2 separate regions of the Homo sapiens genome follow, and region 1 is linked to region 2. The links are contacts of gene promoters, found by promoter capture Hi-C in human tissues and cell types (Jung and others, 2019). All regions are on one chromosome and are shown on one strand. The core of a region is centred on a gene start or on the middle of the fragment in contact, and the rest is flanking DNA. Distances in the headings are between cores, read along the strand shown.

Evidence for each region. The method cuts DNA at HindIII sites, captures the fragments that hold promoters and counts their contacts. A contact is called where the count stands out against the background at its distance.
Region 1: a contact is called between a fragment that was not itself captured here and the fragment with the promoter of ATP8B1 in region 2, in 2 of the 25 tissues and cell types used here (heart left ventricle and pancreas).

The regions. Positions count from the first base shown.
Region 1 is chr18:58,127,260-58,129,963 of GRCh38, forward strand. All of the region lies in intron 1 of NEDD4L (NEDD4 like E3 ubiquitin protein ligase), which reads left to right. Among named protein-coding and RNA genes, the nearest start is that of NEDD4L, 84 kb to the left of the region's middle. The HindIII fragment of the contact is 9,807 bases long and covers 1-2,704 here.
Region 2 is chr18:57,801,790-57,804,644 of GRCh38, forward strand. ATP8B1 (ATPase phospholipid transporting 8B1) reads right to left here and starts at 1,526. Exons shown (of 28, transcript NM_001374385.1): 1 at 1,209-1,526. RefSeq lists an enhancer at 1,146-1,783. The HindIII fragment of the contact is 14,543 bases long and covers 1-2,855 here.

The DNA.
Region 1 (2,704 bases), core at 77-2,576, 330 kb after region 2:
CATGCGGCTAGTGGCTGCCCACAGGACGCTGCAGATGTGGACGTCCCCGTCATCACAGGACGACATTCTGTGGGCAGCGCTGTATTTGTTTACAAACACAATTCTTTGGCTGTGTGAAGGTTCAGGATGATACCTTTGCCATTATGATTCATTTATTCATTTCAGGCTGGACACGGTGGCCCACACCTGTAATCTCCACACTGGGAGGCCGAGGCGGGAAGATCGCTTGAGGCCAGGAGTTTGGGACCAGCCTGGGCAACATGGCGAAACCTCACCTTTATTTAAAAAAAAAAAAATCGGCCGGGTGCGGTGGCTCACACCTGTGATCCCAGCACTTTGGGAGGCCGAGGCAGGCGGATCACGAGGTCAGGAGATTGAGACCATCCTGGCCTAACACAGTGAAACCCCATCTCTACTAAAAAATACCAAAAATTAGCTGGGCGTGGTGGCAGGTGCTTGTAGTCCCAGCTACTCAGGAGGCTGAGGCAGGAGAATGGTGTGAACACGGGAGGCGGAGTTTGCAGTGAGCGGACATAGTGCCACTGCACTCCAGCCTGGGCCACAGAGTGAGACTCCGTCTCAAAAAAAAAAAAAAAAAAAGAATCAACATTTATTTATTTATTATTTATTTTTTTGAGACAGAGTCCTGCTTTGTCACCGAGGCTGGCACGATCTTGGCTCACTGCAAACCCCACCTCCCAGTTCAAGTGATTCTTGTGCCTCAGCCCAGTGCCACCATGCCCGGCTAATTTTTTTGTTTTGTTTTGTTTTGTTTTGCTTTGCTTTCCTTTGTTTTGTTTTGTTTGAGACAGGGTCTCACTCTGTCGCCCAGGCTGGAGTGCGATGGCACGATCTCGGCTCACTGCAACCTCCACCTCCTGGGTTCTAGTGATTCTCCTGCCTCAGCCTCCCAAGTGGCTGGGACTACAGGCTCCCGCCACTGCACCCGGCTCATTTTTGTATTTTTAGTAGAGATGGGGTTTCACCACATTGGCCAGGCTGGTCTCTAACTCCTGGCCTCAGGTGATCCACCCGCCTCGGCCTCCCAGCGTGCTCATTTATTTATTTTAGCATCCCTTCTTGTGCCTGGTTGTAAAGTTCTTCTTATCCCAGGAAACTTAATAGGTCAAAGAACCCTCCCCTTGAGGCAGTTTGGATGGGGCTGGCTGGGAATTGGTATGTCCAGCTGCCCATATCGTGGCCTCTGAGTCAATTATACAGGCATCTCGGCAACTTGAAGTTTTGAGTCCCAAAACAACAGATTCCATAGCATAAACAGTGCAACGTAAATCCTGTCCCTTGTCCCTCTTCCATTGGATACCCTTGTTTATGTTCTCTCTGGCAACTGCCTGTAGCAGGGACGGATGCTGGAAATCCTGGCGGGGCCACGTCTTCTGTGCTTTGTAGGCAGCTATGGCTGGATGGTGCTTGCTGTTTCTGTGTGTAAATGTTGGGATTTTTAAAAGCCCTTCCCCGCTTAATGCGTTGTGGTTGAGCAGCACATTTAAATGCCTGAAGTGTAAGATGAAGTCTCTTGGATGTAGAGGGCAGTGGTGGTTTTTATTTTTCCTGGTTGAACTTGGCCTTTGGATTGCTGACTGCGAGCTCACGGTACTGTTAATGATTTTCTACCTACAGTCACCTGCTGTGCTGAGCACATCAAATACAGTGCGGTTAGTTCCAAGCTATGAAGCGCCTGTCACGCATGTATAACAGGCAGACCTCATTAGGAGGGGGCCTTGCATAGGGGTCACATTTTCCAGCATTTGTTTTCAAAATGGAAATCCAGATCACGCATTTGAGATTAAAATAAAAAAAGCGGCCTGTGCTTTATCATTTTCTTTAACTTACATGCCTGCTGGTCCAGCCCAGATTGCTGATAGAGGAAGCCCTGAGAAAGTTGCCCAGCCAGTTGCCCGTGCTTCAAGACACAAAGGGCTGACTGAGGCATCCGTGCCTACCCTTGGCTGCTGCTGCTCAGCCTGCTTGCATCTCGTCTGTTTTCAGTTATCAGTGGTGTGAGAAAAACACAACGGTGGATTCAGAAGGAGAAACCAAGTCATCTGCATTTGGCCTCAGTGTGTGGACTGTCCTGAAATTTGAGTACAGATGTGTTCATGTCCTGGGATTAGATAAAAAGAGAGGAAACACACAGTGAATTCTTATGGTCTGTCATTTCAGTTGGCCATCTTCTGCCCCTCTGTTCTGGAAGCTTCTCCACTAAAATAGAGCACCCAACTTGGTTTTCTACTTGCTTTCTGGCCCATCTTGAGTTGGAGGAATCATGTGTTTCAGAACTCTTGCTGGTGGTGGGTGGGAGATCAACAAATGATTTCATTAAGCTGTGTGTTCTTAATAAACTTTGGGAAGATTTGTCGCAGAGAAACTCAGATAGGGACCTTGTGATCTCAGCAGTCATGGGTTTATCTTGTCCACACGCGTGGCTTCATTGGGATTTGGTTGGTTGCGATCCAGCAGAACTGTGGCGGTGTTGGGCTCTGTTGGGGTTTGGTTGTGAGCGGAACTGTGGTGTTGGGCTCTGTTGGGGTTTGGTTGACTGTGATCTAGTGGAACTGTGGTGGTGTTGGGCTCTGTTGGGGTTTGGTTGACTGTGATCTAGTGGAACTGTGGCTGTGTTGGGCTCTGGAGTTTGGTTGTGATCTAGTGGAACTGTGGCGGTGTTGGGCTCTGTTGGGGTTTGGTT
Region 2 (2,855 bases), core at 276-2,775:
GAATATTTTCTCACGCCAACAGGGAGGCCAGTTTCCGGGAGAGGAACTCGGCGGCGTCTGGAGCTACCCAGGAAGAGCTTGCAGCCCCCAAGGGCAGCGCGTGCAGGCCAAGGGGGTCGGGTAGGGTTGAGCGGGTACTCACCGGGCAGAAGCGCGGCCCAAGTCCTCCTTACTTCTGCGTGTCAATCCCCCTTCCCCAATTTGCATCCTTACTGCAATCCAGTCTCCCCCGTACAACCGTCACGGATCTGCGCTCCGAGCACCGCCCCCCCCCGCAACCAGCCACCAACCCCCGGCAGGGACCACAGGCACACGCCTCCGTCGGAAAAGTTGGGCAGACACTTCAGAACTTTTCTTTCACTTTGGGGAGAAGGAGGGAGTTGGAGAAGTGGGGGCGAGGGGTGTTAAAGCACTGGGCCATTCTCTGCAACATCTCCCCGCGCCCCCCAACAAGTTGCCCCTCCTCGTGCACACAGCGAGGTGACAGCGCAGGGCACCAAACTGCTGAGGGAAGGAGATGCCTGCAGCCATCTCAGCGGGGCTGGCGGACGCGACCCGACAGTCACCGGAAAAACAGTGGTGTCGGTCTTCCCCATCACCTCCCCTCCCCATCCCACAATAAAGCGCACGGAAGATGTCTGGGAGTACCTGGCCCTGCCACAGGAGCTGGGGAGGAGAGCGATCTCACCCCCTCCATCCCTCCCGGCAGGTGGGCCGCGGTCAGATACGTTTGGCCCGCAAGTCCTTTTCGGACACGTTGGCATCTGCTCCCAAAGAGCGCCCCAGCAGGACCCGGTCACCGGGGTCTTCCAGAGGGGCGGTAGCCACCGCACAGGAGCCAGCGGCATCCCCCAAGGAGCCGCAAGCCCTACCTGGCTTAACCCCCGGACATGTGTGTCGCTACCGATCGAAGAACCCAAACACCCCGAGATTTCCCTCCTCTAGGCAGGTGAAAACCCCACGGAACTCTCCGCAGCGCTGCCTGCCCAGCCGGCCGTGTCTCGCCGTCCCCGAGGCCTCGGGGGCTCCCAGCACCTCCACCCAAATCCCACCTGTGCGGGCTCGGGAGTCCGAGGGCGCTGACAGCTGCTGCCGCCGCATCCCGGATCTCCAAAGTGCGGCGGGAGCGGCCAGGGAACCTGCAGGACACCGCCGGGCCAAGGGGCTTGGGAAGGTCTGGGGGCCCCCGGCGCCGCACCCCTGCTTACCTGGCGTTCGCTGGGCCCCGGCTGGGGCATCCGCCTGGTGCGCGCCGCTCGGAGCGCTCGCTGCGCACCTGGCCGCTGCCGCCGCCCGCCCGGCCCCAGCCCTGGCCGCCGCGCTAGCGCTGCATGGCGCACGGGGGCTGGCCGGGGGCCCGGGGAAGCGTGTCTAGTTGGCGGCGGCACCTCCGGCTCTCGCGGCTCGCTAGTGGCTCCCCCGCCTTTCCCCGCCCCGCGTCCGTGCACCCTTCCTCTGCAGCCGCCCTTTTGCCTCCGCTCCGCCGGACCGGCCAAACTGGTTTCTCCGCTCGGGGAGGTGCCTCTGGTTTCCCTCCAGCAGCCGCGGCCGCCGAGCCTCGCTGGGGCTGGGGCTGGGGCTGGAGGCGGGCTCGGCCTTCTCCCCTCCCTTTTTCCCTCCCTAGGGCGGAGAGGGGCTGGACTGCAAGCCCCGGGGCGGCCCGAGGCGGCCCAGGTCCAGCTCCTGCCCCACGCCCTCCGTGCGTCCTGGAGTCAGGTGGGCACCCCTTTCAGTCTTCCGAGCCCAGCCTACGAGCCCTTGCCTCGCCCAGCCTGAGACCCAGTTGCTGCGGCTGCTCTTAGCTCCCCGGGGGCCGCACTCGCCACCACACCTCTCCAGCCCAGCGTCACTTTCCCGCTGCCCTTGGCTGGCTTGGCCGTCACCCCGGGTCGAGGACTGAGCCAGCCTGGAAAGCTGGCGGGGCCGCGGCGCGCCCGGGACCTGAGCTCCCTCGGTAAGGGGAGCTGTGTCCTCTTGATGCCAAGTCATGTTTGGGGACCGGTCACCGAATGCGCGTCAAAGTTCGCCGCGTGGAGGGTGAAGAAAGAGGCTGCGCCTCAAGACTTCCAGAAACGTATCCTGTGATTGCAGCCAGCAGGCTTTCTGCCGAGTCCAAACGCTATCGAGTTTTTTTGGGTTTGGAGTCAAAAGGAGTTAAGGTGCGGCCCGTGAACCACGCGGTGTAGGTGGAAATTTTGGACTCAGCGCCTCGTTGCTGGCTGGTGTCTGAGCGGGTGAATCGTGCCTCCCTGGCAGTATAGACATTACCCTCCTTCTTGAGTAGACTTTTGCCGCTCCCCGACTATGGACCGAGTCGTTGGGATAAGAATGGAGGAAAATCAAAGATCAGAGTTTGCTTAAAATGCAGTAGGGGAGCCAGGACTCCCACACGATTCCCAGTCACCTAGAGGCTCACATCTATGCCCAAGAGTCCAGACTCCCAACTGGGTCATCACAGAGGCTTCCTACAGGAGGCCGTGCTTGATGGGACTCAAAGATCCACAGCTTTAAGGATCAGAGTTGTGTAGAGAGGGTATTCAACGGGTGGCCAACTGGTAGAATCTTGTCTGATACCAACCCCGAGGCTGCTCTAGGCTTCTTTTTCATGAGTCAAACTTGATCTCTGACTAGGTGCTGGTCAGTCACTCAATCTATCCAGGCCTCAGTTTCCTCATTTGTAAAATGAGATTGGACCAGATGGTCTCTTCCAGCACTTATATTCTGAAGCTAACGACAGAACAAAGGTACCGATGCAAGAGAACATAGGGCCTGTTGGTGACACTGGTTGATCTAAGACATTTAGACTTGTTTTTGGTAGCACCTGCAAACCGTTGACAATTTAGGACCGAGCATGA